Linked DNA regions of Homo sapiens: region 2 is linked to region 1. Evidence: promoter capture Hi-C in human tissues and cell types (Jung and others, 2019). All regions are on one chromosome and are shown on one strand. Each heading gives the region's core, a stretch centred on a gene start or on the middle of the fragment in contact. The rest is flanking DNA. Distances are from core to core; before and after follow the strand shown. Region 1 holds the start of SLCO1B3 (solute carrier organic anion transporter family member 1B3). Region 2 has its middle 270 kb from the start of LINC02398.

Evidence for each region. The method cuts DNA at HindIII sites, captures the fragments that hold promoters and counts their contacts. A contact is called where the count stands out against the background at its distance.
Region 2: a contact is called between a fragment that was not itself captured here and the fragment with the promoter of SLCO1B3 in region 1, in 1 of the 25 tissues and cell types used here (dorsolateral prefrontal cortex).

The regions. Positions count from the first base shown.
Region 1 is chr12:20,807,720-20,812,673 of GRCh38, reverse strand. SLCO1B3 (solute carrier organic anion transporter family member 1B3) reads right to left here and starts at 1,969. Exons shown (of 16, transcript NM_019844.4): 1 at 1,910-1,969. The HindIII fragment of the contact is 19,974 bases long and covers 1-4,954 here.
Region 2 is chr12:19,739,775-19,744,728 of GRCh38, reverse strand. No RefSeq gene overlaps it. Among named protein-coding and RNA genes, the nearest start is that of LINC02398, 270 kb to the left of the region's middle. The HindIII fragment of the contact is 3,582 bases long and covers 1,246-4,827 here.

The DNA.
Region 1 (4,954 bases), core at 720-3,219:
TCAAAGATCCCTCTTACAACAAAAATAAAACTTACACTTCCTATTTGAGGGTCTTCACAGCCTAAATGAATCCAAGTTTTTAGTCCCATTTCCCAATACAACCATAAGCACTTGCAGATGTATGGAACCACTGTCCCAACAGAAAAGCTCTCTACCTTCATGTATATGTCTTCCATTCCTGGAATGTCCTTCCCTATCTCTTGGCTGTAATGCGGCTCCAAATCACACCACTTTAATGTTTCCCTATTTACCTCTAGTTGAAATAAACTCTCTCATCCTCTCATCCTTCTGTACCACTGGAGAACATACCCGAATAATCATTACTTTTTTCTGTTATTTCCCGTACTTTCCAAGACAACTATTCCACACCTCTCTCTTTTATGTTCAGATAAAATACCCATCCAGAAAAATAAGAAATGTGGGCACTTGGTTTCTCATCTCTCAGAAAGGTTAAATTGTATCAAGTAGGCCGGGAGCAGTGACTCATGCCTGTAATCCCAGCACTTTGGGAGGCCGAGGCGGGCAGATCACCTGAGGTTGGGAGTTCGAGACCAGCCTGACCAACACAGAGAAACCCCATTTCTGCCAAAAATACAAAATTAGCTGGGTGTGGTGGTACATGCCTGTAATCTCAGCTACTCTGGAAGCTCAGGCAGGAGAATCACTTGAACCCAGGAGGCTGAGGTTGTGGTGAGCTGAAATCACGCCATTGCACTCCAGCCTGGGCAACAAGAGCGAAACTCCTTCTCAAAAAAAAAAAAAAAAAAATGTATCAAGTAAGTACAAAGTACCTACAAAACTTGAATATCAATTTAGCCTTGAATAAATACCACACTTTTTACTTCATTGTGGCATTTTAAGCCTTATTTAGAAGCGTTTAATATATTTTGCTCTGAACATATTATTTCTGAGTTCCAAATTATTGACATAAATAAATGTTGAGGACACAATATGTTTATAGACAGAGCCACAGGCATTTGTATGCAGCATTGCAACTCTTCCCTGAACAGAACAGGTCAGTTCTTCACAGTTTGATTGGGCTGAAGTAGAGGGCAGAATCTTACCAGCCTCTGCTTATTTCTGTTTAGCTTTTCATATTTAAGGGGTTATAGAAAACCAGTGCAGGCCAAGTGACCCAGTTTCTAGCATGTACCTATGGAACTGAGGAGGATAAAAGGGAAAACAGCATTTCCTAACTTCTTAGATTGTTCAGAGGAGAGAATTTCTGCATCCCCACCTTACTTTCACAATAAAAATAACTGTCTTATCAGGGAAGCCACCTTCCTGAATGGGTGAAGGGGACCATTATTTATTGAGCTGTTAATTCTTTCCAAGAGCTGTGCCCAGAAGATTTTTTTCTCTTATTTGAACAGAGATAAAAAAGTTATCTAGAAAATCTCTTTCCCCTCACCCTAAATCAAACGAGTTGAATGGAGGAAAGTGAGGTGATTAAGTGACTTTGAAACATATTTTCCACCCCTCCACCCGCCCACTCCTACTTATCCAGTTAAAGTGAAATCAAAGAAATAGGGAGCCTGGTATAGTAATTCAATACAGTTTATACAAATAATTATCTTATAGTATATTTTAAGAGAGTAACTAGAAGTCCATCCTTTCAGACTTCATGTTTCATTTGTTTAGAAAGCAATAGAAATAGGACTCCAAACTTTATTTTTCACTTTATAAAGGTATGATTTACTCTTATTTTTGAGTATATAAATCTGAGGCTCTTCTATTTCTAGAAGGGATATTTACAAGGCTTTAAGGGCTCAGAACAAAAGTGTGGAGAAGACACAGAGCATAAAATCTGTAATATTTATCATAACTACCAAAAACATTTTCACTGAAATTTGTTAAAATTTCTTACATAAAAGAAATGTTTTAATTAGACAACCTCGACGGTTCTTACCTTGACTTTGAATGCTACAGCAACTGCAACAAGTCCATCCTTTTTCTGATGTTAAAGTCTCACTTTAAATGGTTAGTTGGCTTTTTATTTGTTTGTTTTTATGAGTCCAATGATGATTAACCATCTTATTAGGTCATTGTCCTAGGCAAACAGAAAAAACATACCTAGCTAATTCTAGGAGTTCACCCCAGAAGCCTATCTTTTAAACATTTTATTAATAATTTCTCAGAATGTACACATTATGTTAACATTAGAAAATAAATTATTTCTGGGAATGATTTATTTCTTATTCAATTAAGTTGGTTGCATAAGATTTTCTTCTTTAGAAATACAAATACAACACATTATCCAAAGTATTTAAAACTATTCCAAATAGAAAATATGTCAAGGCGATTTTTTAAAATGTCCCTACATGTTACATTAGCATTCAAAAAATAAAACATACCCTCTTTGCTTGTTACATGTGTATGGATCTAATATGACGTACATGGACACTGGATATCTCACATGGAATACTAAATTGCCAATTAATTACAAGACTAGTCTTCTAAATGACAAAAATCAAGACTAGTTTGTATGATATATTCCTTACATCAATGTGTAAAGGAAGAATGATCTCCTTCTATTGACTTGCTCTTTAGAGAATGGAAGACCTTCACTCAGTTGAAACTTTTCTTGAGTAAGGATGAAGTCAAATTAATTAATTCAGTAACTCAAACATATTTGACTCCCTACTATATCTCAGGCACATGGCTGTGTTTTAGAAGTGTACTATAAAAATATAAATAATAAACGGAGTCTTCTCTCACATGTATATATACACACACATGCATGAGTGTATGTATATATGTATTTATGTGTATGTGTGTATGTATATAGCAAAGAGAGAATGCATGTATGAAAACATTGTTACCCCTTATCACTGACAGGACAGTTGTTGATACAGTTGCAGCAATATGTATTTAATTTCTATATCACAGTTATTTGATAAACTAGTTTTTTTTTTTTTTTTTGAGACGGAGTCTTGCTCTGTCACCCAGGCTGGAGTGCAGCGGCACGATCTCGGCTCACTGCAAGCTCCGCCTCCCGGGTTCACGCCATTCTCCTGCCTCAGTCTCCCGAGTAGCTGGCACTACAAGCGCCCGCCACCACGCCCGGCTAATTTTTTCGTATTTTTAGTAGAGACGGGGTTTCACCATGTTAGCCAGGATGGTCTCGATCTCCTGACCTCGTGATCTGCCCACCTCGGCCTCCCAAAGTGCTAGGATTACAGGCGTGAGCCACTGCGCCCAGCCTAGATTAGTTCTATACCTGGTTAATTCATGGAAGTATTAGAATAATGAAAGGAACCGGAGTGTGGAGGGAGAGAAGGATTAGAAAATGTGGGGAACACTGAAGTGTAGACCTGGGGCAGGGAAAATTAGATATAGGCTCCCAAACACCCCTCTGTTGAGTCAAAATCTACTGGGGAGCCTTTGTCAAAAGTGCGATCCAGCCCCACACCCAAGAGATTCTGATTCACGAGTTCGGAGATTATGCTTTTTAAATAAGCACTTAGAATAATTTTTACATACTGTCAGCTTTTGAGAACCATCATAGCAGAGATACTAAACATTAATTATCAGTTTTATGGCTTTTCTTTTATTCAGAATGGGAAGACAGTTTGGATATTCTCATGCTAATGGTTTTCTCCTCACACATCCATTTCATTCAAGACACATCAATTTCATTTGGGACAAATACATGCATAGAATGAAGATAAAATAGTACAAATGCACTGAGAAACTTTCTAATCCCTAAACTAACGCTATCAGTGGTAAAATTCTGGAATGTTTTCAGAAGTCAAAGAGCATTCTCTGTGCCCTTTTTTCTTCCTATGTAAGTAATTAGACTTCCCTTTTTGTGGGACTTGTGGAAAAAATAAGAGTGGTCAGAGGAAACACATTGCAACACTTTTTTTCAAGATAAATATTATGCTAACAGCTGTGGATCAATACAACTCCAAATTTGCTTAAAACAATCTGCTGTTTGTTGCCGCAATAATCATCACAGTTCTGATGAAATATTATGGGCTTTGAAGTTTGATAAACTTTGATACCAATGTCTCTGCTACTTGACAGCAGTATAAATTTCCTAAGTTGTTTCACCATTCTAAGTATCTATGCTTTCATCCATTAAGTGGGAAGGCTATAGTTGTAATAAAGATTTGCTCTGTGTAAACTGCCTCACCCAGTACCTGGCACATTATAGATTCCATACCTAAATAGAGTCATTGTATGGCATTTGCATATTGTCCATTTTTAAAGCAGTTAATTCATATTACAAGAGTAAAAGTCAAGTCTCTGAAACACGTCCCCAGCAATTTTTCCTAATAGTTTTTAGTCTGAGTTCTCAGATGGGTACTGGGTGCGTATTCCCAGAAGGAAACTTCAGGCTCAAAGCAGACCTGCCATTGCCTACCCACCCCACCTTCCTTAGCTGGTCAAGACGTAATTACAGAAAGCTGCACTCCCTGGAAAGAACCCCCATGTCTCCATACCCACTAAGGGTCAAAGCTCTGGTATCATTATGACTAATCTTATGGCAATTCTCTCTCTTAATGTCAGTCACCACCATAAGAAGGTAGGGGCAAGGCGCGGTGGCTCATACCTGTAATTCCAGCACTTTGGGAGGCCGAGGCAGGCGGATCACGAGGTCAGGAGATGGAGACCATCCTGGCTAACACGGTAAAACTCCCTCTCTACTAAAAATACAAAAAATTAGCTGGGCGTAGTGGTTAGAGGTGACAGCGTCCTGGCAGCCCTTGCTCCCTCTCCGCGGCACCTCCTCCGCCTTGGCGCCCACTCTGGCCGTGCTTGAGGAGCCCTTCAGCCCCCCTCTGCACTGTGGGAGCCCCTTTCTGGGCTGGCCGAGACCGGAGCCGGCTCCCTCAGCTTGCTGGAAGGTGTGGAGGGAGAGGCGCGGGCGGAACCCGGGCTGCGTGCGGCGCTTGCGAGCCAGCGCCAGTTCCCGGTGGGCGTGGGCTCGGCAAGCCCTGCACCCAGA
Region 2 (4,954 bases), core at 1,787-4,286, 1.1 Mb after region 1:
TCCAGTCTAAAGAAGCAGTTGGCTGATTCCTGACCACTTACTTCTACAGACACTCCTTTTAATTTAAAATAAAATAAAAGGTGCCAGATTCTCTCTGGCAGCCATTGATAGAACTACTATTCAATACACACCACTTAACACAAATATAAATCAGAAAGCCCTTCTGTCTAAACTGAACTCTTTATCTTTCAAAACGGTCCCATCTCCTGTCTTAGAATTGTATCCACCGCAAGTCTTGGGAGGAATAGTTGTTAATAATGCTTCCTACCAATCTCATTAAAAGCTCAATTTTATATATTTTTCGTGTTTGCAAGGGAAGGGATGCAGGGAGCTTGGAATGAGAAAGTTTGATTAATGAAAATGACATGGCTGTGAAAACAAGACAATTGAAGACAAAAATGAAACAACCATTAGAATTTATTCAACCAATGTCTGTAAGAGACTCTGATAAACCAGACATCATAAAGACTAAGATCATGAAGGTTTTCTGTTAACAGACTGAAGAAGAGGCAACTTATATGGATTCGTAAACCAAAGCTTGGGAAAGTGATGATGGGAAGGTTTTTGAGTTGAAATGACAATTCATGAATATTTTCTCAGTGGTGTTTTGGTGGACTGGAGAGATGAAGGAATAGGAACTGGAGGTAAATTACTTGTGCTGTAAATTTAAGTCAGTACATGTGGTATCTATTCCTTCCAAAATTTTAACTGATTTTCAAATTTGTAAATCTATGTACTTTTAGGTTGTTAATATAATCTATAGCATGGAGCCATAGGATCATATGTCAAAATTTAGTTCCAAATGTGCCTTTCAAGAAGTCTTTTCTCCTCAGATCATTCTGCAGCTGTTCCATCGGTGCCCATTTACACTATATTTTGTATAGTGTGACAGTTGTATTGTGGGGGTTAAACCCTTAGATTCGGTCCAGTTGTTCTAATAGGCTGACTCTAAAATTTATAAGACGTGTGATCCTAGATTTTCTTAATGAAAAATCCCTTAAATGCCCTTATCACAGTTCCTGGCACAGGAAAAGTAGACAATAAATGTGAGGCACTATTATTTCTAGCTTAATTGTTTTAAATTTTTTGGTTTCATATACATATATTTGGCCCCAAGAAATGTCTATTGAATAACTCTCCTCATAAATAAACTTCAATGCATGGACATATCATAATCAAACTCGAATACCTTCACTTACAAATTATCAAATGTCTAAAATTCAGAGCATTATTTTTATAGTGTTTCAGAAATCTGGAGCATCTTTTAAATATTGTGTAGGTTTAGTAAGATCAGATTTGAGGGTTACACTGACTATAGCAATGTGTGCCTAATTCCATGAACTTTAATATCTGACATGCAGAGATTCAAATCCAGTCCCTCATGTGCCTCTTACCCTCAAACATCCAAAATTTCCCTCCAAATAAGATACAAGAAATTGAGGGATAACTTCTGTATATATCATGGTTACATTTTAAGGCTAGAAGGCACAAGAATAGAAGACGATGAAGTATAAACATTATGATAAATTTTCAGTACTCTAGCCAGACTCCGTATCAGGCCATCTCTTCCCTAGAGGGATGGAAGAGGGGATTCAGCCACGTCTGTAGAGGTGTGTGTTTGAGAACCAAATGCAGGGAAACATCTCCCTCTCTGATGTTGAAGCTCGGGGCCCTAGTTCATCTGTGGTTCGTGATGGATCCTGAGATATTTGACAAAGTCAACATGAGATGCTCCTAAAGTTAGAAGGCTGTATGGCTGACTTCTTGAGGGATTTGGAGGCATTGTTTGGTGATTCTACAGCGGTGTAGCTGACAATCCTTGAAGCGTGAACATTAGCAACTGCAGAGACAACAGAATCAGCAATGATTCAGGGCTCCTTATCTTAAAGAAAGCCTCCTACCATTCATACCTTTTTTATTTTTTGCTTTTCAAACTACTACTTGATACCTAAGCTTCCTGAAGGCTTAACAGAATCCTTGACTTATATATAAATATATGTTGTTTTACAATCCTGCTTTGCAATATGTATATGACAGCACTATACAAAAAATAATTTCTTTGCCAATTGCCATGGTTCTAATAAAAATAAAGTCAAACTTGATACTGATATAACACTCAGGGTGTTCTTGTTTATGGACATGGTGATTTTGGGGGAAGAAAGGGGCTTTTTCTTCAACAATACATTTTGTAGTCACTAATATATTATTTCATTTAATCTAGTTGCTTCCCTAAGGCTTACCACAACATTCCTTAAAATCTGTAATAATTGTCAAAGTAATTTAGGTTTAACAGGAGTTATCGCTGGCAAAGCTTAGGGGGAAGCAATGAGCATTAAGGTACAAATAACTTCCTAAAAATATCACCTGCAATAGCTTTCAAATGGTATTCTTCATTATCTCTCCACCTACTTCTTAAAACATTAACTCAAAAGACTTTCTTGCTCATTTTCTTATATTTTTCTTTTAAGGGAGCAAAGTTGTGGCATGCTCTAAAGATATGTTATCATTGGCACACAGGCAATTAATTTTTATTAAACAAAAGTGATGTTGGAATTTTAAAATTATAATTAATATATGCTGAAGCAGGGGGAATGAATAGCCTTCCCATTATGAATCACCCAAACTCTCTCTCTAGGTATTCTTTTCACATAAAGTTGAAATGAAAAGCCTTTAGGTCCTTACAGTTGCTGTTGTTGTTTTAATAAATTATTCAAAAAGCTGGTTCAAATGTGATTTTTTAGTAGTAGTGTGCTGGTTTATCAACCAGCTATTATTTGTAGTCTTTGCCCCTCTTTATAAATAATTCCACCATGGCAGATTTCAAGCCACACCATCATCCTGCCAACATGCTGTTGGGGAGAGATTCACCCAATCAGTTGTCACAAGCGGGTATGAACCCATCAGGGCTGAGCTAGAAGAGGAAGAACAACTCCAAGTTTCGCTGTTACACCACCATGTGGAGAAATGGGCAGTCATGTCAGAAATAATCTTTTTCTTCTGCCTTATAGACCTGACAAGCTTCGCTCACTGGGATATTTTCTAGGAGTTTACATTTATCTCAGGTCCTAGTCTAGGAGGTACATCAAAAACAACTAAAAAAAGATGGTTAGGCGGGGGAAGGGCATTCACTTGTCTAGATGATGCCTTAATAGCACTTAGCATAAATTAACCTAGGAAATTCTCAAGGATCCCTAAGGCATAAAGTAGGCAGTAAGTGTGGATTCTATTTGATAGGAAGTTAAAGGTTTCTGAGAAGAAAAGAAATCAAGTTTGGCAATAGAACATTAAACAGCAATAAACATTTTTGGCTGCTTAGTAGAAGAGGCCCGCTCCTCTGGGAAAAAACCACTGCTCTTTATTCCCCCCACGTACTCCAGTCTTTGTACTTTGAACAGTTGTTCCACTTAAAAGTAACCTACTTTTTACCCAGCAAGAGCTCAGGGACCTGGTTAGTATCAACACTTAGAAGCAGCAGCTTCTGTGAATTTGGATCTTCCTTTCACCTCCTCCTGTATTGTCACTCATCATAAAAACGTATGGCTAGAATAAAGTGTAGCCTTATGAAATAGGCCACATTATTGAGAAATTAAAATTTGTTCTATCCTTCTTGCTGAAAACTCACTGTCCAAAAAAAAAAAAGAGAGAGAGAGAGATTATTTTTTTTTCTTCTGTCAGACTTCCTTTTGTGTTCTGAATTCCCCAGGAGAAGAGGAACCATTTTTGGCTTCAGACCCGTTGGAGCAAATTAAGCAATAGAGTCCCAAAGGGCCTGGAGCGTTTTGCCCCACTAGACCCTGAAGTGAGCTAGATATCCAGAGACTGGAAGCTGGGGATGGTGGACTCTGGAGCAGTGGTGGTAGGTTGGGAGTAGAGGACACGCACCTTCACAGCACCTAAGAAGTAGCAGAGCTTCTGTGTGAATGTCTAGAACCCTGCACAGCGTGAAGGTTCTGTGTCAATGCCCCACGAAGGCGGTGAATGGTAAAAGAGAAATGCCTCCAAAAGGACCACACAAGCTTAAACAACAAACATCTCAGTGACTATCAACAAAGGCAGAGAATGGAGGCCCTGGTCCAATTTTTCTGGTTTATTTAAGCCCCTTGGGTCTTTTCCCATTCTGCGTGAAGTAGGGAAGTTCTCCTTAAAAAAAAAAAAAGAAAAGAAAAAGAAAAAAAAACTTGAGTTTGGATGTCCTGCTAGCCTGCTAGCCAGGAAAATGGAATAACCCATATTTAATTTGATTCATAACAATAAAGAAATGAGATGCTTTTTGTATACTGATATTCTTGAACACCAACTGGATACCCTATCCTACTAATCCCGTACTGCTTATGAATGTTCCCTGGTTCCACAAATATCTCCACTGCAAATGAACTAACTACTCAGTTAACTAGTTCAGAGTTCGGACATTTTATATCTGCAACATGTAGATTACCCTAGTCTTGGTATGCCCCTTTTTTATTAAATTAAACTTTATTAAAAATGTGTGTATCCCTCTTTAAATTTGTAATTACCACGAAAAAAGATTCCTACCATATGTTTTTTGCCTGATTTGGATATTTAGATATATCTGAGGGGCATTTCTGAATTCTTAGCTGCTGTGTGCAGTTTTATGAAAAAAAGCAAAAGCAGAAGAAACATGACAAATTTATCGATCTCCACCAATAAGTCAAGTGGCCAAAGCTCCCTTGCCTTCCATTCCGTCAGAGAATAACGGAGCAAAATGCAATTATAAAGCATAAGGTTCTTGTGCAGCTTTGCTCTGAAGACAGTGAGTCCTGTTTTCTGCTTTTAACTAAAAGCAGTATTTCTACCTTCAAATTGGACAAGTCATTTCACCTCTGTGGGCCTTGGTTTCCTCACCTAAAAGTTTGCATGTTCAACTAAATGATCTCCAAGGCTCTTTATAGCACTAAGATCCTATGATTTCAAGCTATTATATGAAATCCAAGAA